Linked DNA regions of Homo sapiens: region 1 is linked to region 2. Evidence: promoter capture Hi-C in 16 types of primary human blood cells and fetal thymus (Javierre and others, 2016). All regions are on one chromosome and are shown on one strand. Each heading gives the region's core, a stretch centred on a gene start or on the middle of the fragment in contact. The rest is flanking DNA. Distances are from core to core; before and after follow the strand shown. Region 1 overlaps OXCT1 (3-oxoacid CoA-transferase 1). Region 2 holds the start of NNT (nicotinamide nucleotide transhydrogenase).

Evidence for each region. The method cuts DNA at HindIII sites, captures the fragments that hold promoters and counts their contacts. A CHiCAGO score of 5 or more calls a contact.
Region 1: a contact is called between a fragment that was not itself captured here and the fragment with the promoter of NNT in region 2, in 1 of 17 cell types (non-activated CD4 T cells). The highest score is 6.3, in non-activated CD4 T cells.

The regions. Positions count from the first base shown.
Region 1 is chr5:41,841,075-41,843,774 of GRCh38, reverse strand. OXCT1 (3-oxoacid CoA-transferase 1) reads left to right here. Exons shown (of 17, transcript NM_000436.4): 6 at 994-1,100. Among named protein-coding and RNA genes, the nearest start is that of OXCT1-AS1, 28 kb to the left of the region's middle. The HindIII fragment of the contact is 1,846 bases long and covers 395-2,240 here.
Region 2 is chr5:43,601,872-43,604,571 of GRCh38, reverse strand. NNT (nicotinamide nucleotide transhydrogenase) reads right to left here and starts at 1,392. Exons shown (of 22, transcript NM_182977.3): 1 at 1,278-1,392. NNT-AS1 (NNT antisense RNA 1) reads left to right here and starts at 1,342. Exons shown (of 3, transcript NR_073113.1): 1 at 1,342-1,794. RefSeq lists silencers at 1,132-1,351, 1,472-1,561, 1,825-2,044. The HindIII fragment of the contact is 7,409 bases long and covers 1-2,700 here.

The DNA.
Region 1 (2,700 bases), core at 68-2,567, 1.8 Mb after region 2:
ATAAATGTACCAAAATTTTCTATTTTCTATAGCAGCTTTTTGTAAAACGCACTTAGTCTGTTTTTCCACTAGGGGGTGCGGTAGGGATGAGAATGGAGTTCTACATTCACATGGCTCCATTTTGTGCAGTGATGGAGTGTGGCAATGGATGCTTGTTTTAATTCCCGGAAATAAACCGTCAAGAATAAAAGAACATGATGGCAAGACAGTTTTGCTTTATGTTCTTCCCTCCAAAATTGGTAGTATAATTAAAAGGCAATAAACATAAATAAAAATCAATAGCATTCCCTAGATCAGTAATGTCAGAAGAGTAGATAGGAGCAAATGTAACATTCACAGTAGCAAGAGAAACCACTAAGTACCTATAAATAAACCTAAGAAAAAAAATAAAGCTTTTATGGAGAAAATAATAAAACTATTGAAGGAGGTCGAAGAAAACCTCAGTAAATGGAGACATATACTATGCTCATGGGTGGGAAGATAGGGCTTGTTGGTTTTCTCCAAATTTACTGATTCTGTGAATCCCATTTAAAATCTCAACAGGTGATATAGGTTATTGAGGATAGCTGAATGATAGATTTTTGTAACTATTTTATGTAGGAAAACAATACATAGACCATTTTATGCAAACTGTTTTTTCAGGGGAGAGGGAAAGAAGGACTATTTTTCACATTCAATATACAACCTGTACATACAAATAGTAAAATGAAAATAGTCTATCCCTCAGGCCATAGAACTTTCAGTTCCTCAAATGCACAAATTTTCTTTTGTCACTGGACCTTTGCTTGTCTGTTTCCTTAGCTCCCCTTAGACCACTTTGACTAAGTCCTGCTTGCCTAACACTGCTTATCTTTGAAGTCTCTGGGATGCTTTTCCCTCTGAGAAATTTTCCCTCAGTAGGCTTGTATCCTTATTATCTACCTCTATCAGAGTGCCTCTATCACAATCAAGACCTATGCAAATACCTGATGATGCCTTCTCCCTCTTCTGCAGGTGAGGGAGTTCAATGGTCAGCACTTTATTTTGGAGGAAGCAATTACAGGGGATTTTGCTTTGGTGAAAGCCTGGAAGGCGGACCGAGCAGGAAACGTGATTTTCAGGTATTGTGATAGTTTTAAAAACACTCGTGCATATCAGCAACTCTAAAAATGGACATCAGAGTGAATTTGGAATTTAAAAATGTATTTTCGTAATGGCCCAAAATCATACATGCCCATGTGTATTGCACATATATAGGTGTGTGCAGGGCTGCTGGTATGTCCACTTGTGGGAGTCTGTTTAGACTGGTCGATATCTATGTTGCACTGCTTGTTAAATATTTGGATCTATATGCCCTTTTATATAGGCACATGCAGTTGTTTTTCTCCTTGTGTATTTTAGTTGCCAAGACCAGTTACATGCTTAGAAAATGTGACATCATACAATTTTATTTAATTGATATTGTAATTTACATGTATTGTCTTAAAATGTCAAAGCTAATTTGATACTCTGGAAAGATACTGCTAATAATCATTGGGGTCAGTCCTTCAGTCCTTTTGGTGTCTTCTAGGAAATGCTTACAAAGGTTCTATCTGAAAAATTGATTAACCTTTATAATACTGAATTTTCAATCCTCTCAGCCACAGACTTTATAGATTTTAAAATCTTTTGGTTATTCTAAGCATACTAAGTATTTATATCTTGGATTTATAGATTTATATAGTTGTTTTTTGAGGAATATGAAACCTTTGAGTGTACACTTAAGAGTTTTCCAAACTGATCTTGAAGACTTTACCTATCAGATTACAGAAATCATTGTTTTTGCTTATTTATCATTTGCTGCTTTCGATTAACAATTTTTAAATCTTTAGCAAATGCAGCTTTGGTGCAATTACAGTTAAGTTCTCAGTGATACTCTCATATCACTTTTTATTTCTGAAGGACTTATGTGATATTAATGCTCTTTGATTTCTTTAATTTAGCCAGTTTTTTAAAGTACAACTAATTTTGGCAATAACAGGAGTAATTTTACATCATCTTTACCTTATTTGACACGTTTGTGTAATATTTACACGTTTAGTTGCTTTTTAAAAAAGATTAACAAAATTGTATACTACCAAACAGAAAGGAATTATTGAAAATATTCCCATGTTTATTCTGCGCTGCAGTGCCTGGCTCTGGTATTTGAAGGCTGCACAAGGGCTATTCTGGGCACTGACTTTATGCTGGTGGTTAATGAGTTCGGGTGTGAAATGAAAGCTTGCATCACCAATGGTCAAGTGACCTTAGGATTAACTTCATATTTAGTGGGACAGCTGGAACAGAAGTCTGTCTAGGTTATTCAAGTGGGGGACTTGGGACTCCTTTGCCTCTGACCATTCTGCCCTTGGAGCTTTTGATGCCTGGATGTCTGGTGGGATCTAACCCAGCAACTTGTGAAAGTTCACGAGGGCTCCTTTCTCAAGGATGCTCCTATTCCTGTACTCATTCTTCAATCTGAGCAAAAGAAATATTGGTGGCTCAAAAGAGCTAGTAAAACATAGCTGTGACTTACTTCCTTTTACCAAAGAAATTCTGCCATCAACGTATATTCCCAGAGACAAAAAATATGTTTTAATTTTTACCATTAGGGGAACTGTATTGAGGAACATCAGAGTGCAAAACCATCGGCAAAATTGGCACCTGCTAGAAATTTTTACACCTCGGGGTCTGATGTGGGTG
Region 2 (2,700 bases), core at 143-2,642:
AGTATTTTTGACTGAATGAATAGGGCTAGGTGACCTTAAGCCTAAGTACCTATTGAGCACATTTTCCAAGGATTTTCGGAAAATTTCCTTTGAAAAGGAAATGTTTGTGTAGCCTTGTGGAAAACTGATTCTATCACCAAGGTAAGCAGCCTAAGCGCACCTGCTGGAAAGAAGGCAATCCTAAACTGTCTGTTAATAAAAAGTCAAGGTTTACAAATAAAAGGGGTGCAATGAAGAAAAGGGGCACACTTTAAATAAGAAGAGTAGGTAGGCACCTAAGCCCCACGCGCTTCTCCGAATAAGTCTGTCCTACAAGACTCCTGACAAACAGACCACCTAAGGACTGGCCGGCGCCACAGGGTGAATAAAGGACACCGGCAACCATAAACAAGTCACGCTTTTAAAAGCGAGACATACCAGCAAGGACACAATACCCTACTGAGCCAGCTTCGGCTGGCAGGCGCCGTGACCTCACCCAAAGCCACTGGTGTCACGGCTACTGCCACCGGTGCCGTCCCTTGCTCGGCAACTAACTGCCACCCGCTGGCATCTGCACGAGACCGCTATTTATAACCTCCCTAGGAAGCCGATTGGCCACGGCTGCAAATAGTCATTCCGGCTGTTGAGTTTGAACTAGCTCTGCCCAGGTCGCCCTCTCCGCTGTCTCTTCCTCCTCACCAGCCTAGGCCCCAGAAACTTGTACCCACCACCGCCAGACCGCCCCAACTCACACTCACAATTTGTGCTCGCAATCTCCTATGTCCCCAGCCGGACACCCTCTCCGAACTCCCTCAAGGGTCAAGCATACCTCAAGGGCATCCAGCTGCCACCTCTCTGGATGAACCGCCCATCGAAAGTCCTCTATGACCTCCCTCTCCACCACCCCCGATCTTGAGGGCCGAAATGACCCCGTACGACTCTCGCTGTCCCCCAAAGCTGCAAATATCTGCACCTGCACAGCTGCCGCCTCATTCCCTGCCCTCTTCGGGGACCCAGTTCCCAAATCCACCAGCCCACTCCCTTCGACATCGCCCCAGCAGGAGACGAGAAAGGGACACCAAGAGGCACGGTGCTTCTTCCCCACCTAAGCCTGCGGCCTGCGGACACCCCAATGCACCCTGCGCCCGGGACACCGCCGACCCCGCCCCGCTTTGCTCTTTGACAGGTCTCTCTCCCGGCGAGGGCCGTGGTCTTCAGGAAAGGCCCGAGCCCCTTTCCCAGCTGCGCCCTAGGCGCGCGCCCCGGCTGCCCGCACCCGCCAGTGCCGTCGCGCTCACCTGGGCCGGGAGGCTGACAGCCTTGGGCTGTGCCCTGAGGGCCGCGAGAGGACGTCGCGCTGGCAGACCCGGGCTTGGGCCCCGCGGCGCTGCGCCTCCAACCCGGAAGAACAGCCCCAACTCCGCGGCGGCGGGCGGCCACGTGACTGCAGCTCCGCTCCCACCTCGGCCCGCGCCCCTTCCCCGCCCCAGCTTTCTTCCCGCCAGGCCCCCTCCACCCGATCGCCGCGCGCTCTCCGAACCAAAAGGCGACCTCACGAAATGCCCCTTTGAGCTCAAAGGCTAGTTACCCCCAGGGGCCCTTCCACTCTCGGGGACAGGCGAAACCTCTTTGTCTCTGCCTCGGCCTGCGGCCCCCAGCCCAGCCTCCGCGCTTTCCCTCCGCCAGTCCTTGTCAATCAAACCTGGTGCCAAACGCGGCAGCTGAAGTTTTCAGGGACACATTTGCTTCTCCCCTTGAAGAACCAGTTACAAAGCGTGATGTCCTCTCTGGGGTCCCATCAGAACAAAGAAACAGGTAATATAACTCCACTCCGGGTACCTGCCTTTCCTCCAGCTCGCTAGGAAAAATCAGAACTTCTGTAACAGAGAGGACCCAAGGGAAAGGGGCAGGCGGAGAGGGGTTGGTGAAGGGCGGGAATGGGGGGCGTTGATTTTCCATTCTGGCAGGAGAGGTGGAGTTAAATTCCTCAGAAACGATGTCCAGGCTTGAAAAGTAACACACATCTGCGTGCTTGTCTTCCAACATCAGAGCCAGCCTAGAGGAAGCTGGCTAGTGTCACTGCTAGTACGAATATCCCCGAGGCTGGAAAGCATCTGGGTGGAGGTTGTGAGCTTTCCAGACCAGGCCTCGGCTGTTTTTCTAAAACTATTAACCGTAATGACCTAGTCGTTCTTTTCACACAGTTCTGTTACTTATTCTGCAGGTGTATTCTGACTAAAAGTGGGAGGAATAAAAAATAGAGTGTAAAATGGTTCACTTGCCCAAAACTTAATCATCATGAAGTGTCAGTAACGTCATTTATTTCTATTAATTGAAATTTTGATACAAGAAAAATAATTATGAATCTAAAAGGTATAAGCAGAACAGGTATTCCATAACTTTAAAAAGAAATGAGCCGCAGGGAAACCCTTAGTTTGAGAACTTGTCTTGTGATTAACCTACACAGAAGGTCATTCAACTAATGGATTCCCACTGCAGTCCAAACTCACAGACAGGAAATGACACAGCCCCATGTTTTAAAATAATAATGAGCCGTGGTAAGTGTGACCATAGGGACGGTTTCCAGATACTGAAGGTACAATGAAGTGAGATTAGTAATGATCCCACTTAGTAAGGATTTTAAACTAAGTTATTGATTTAAAACTTTTTGTAGGGGTCAGGAGTTGCTGCTTTGTCTTTTAGGGATTAATAATTCGTGGT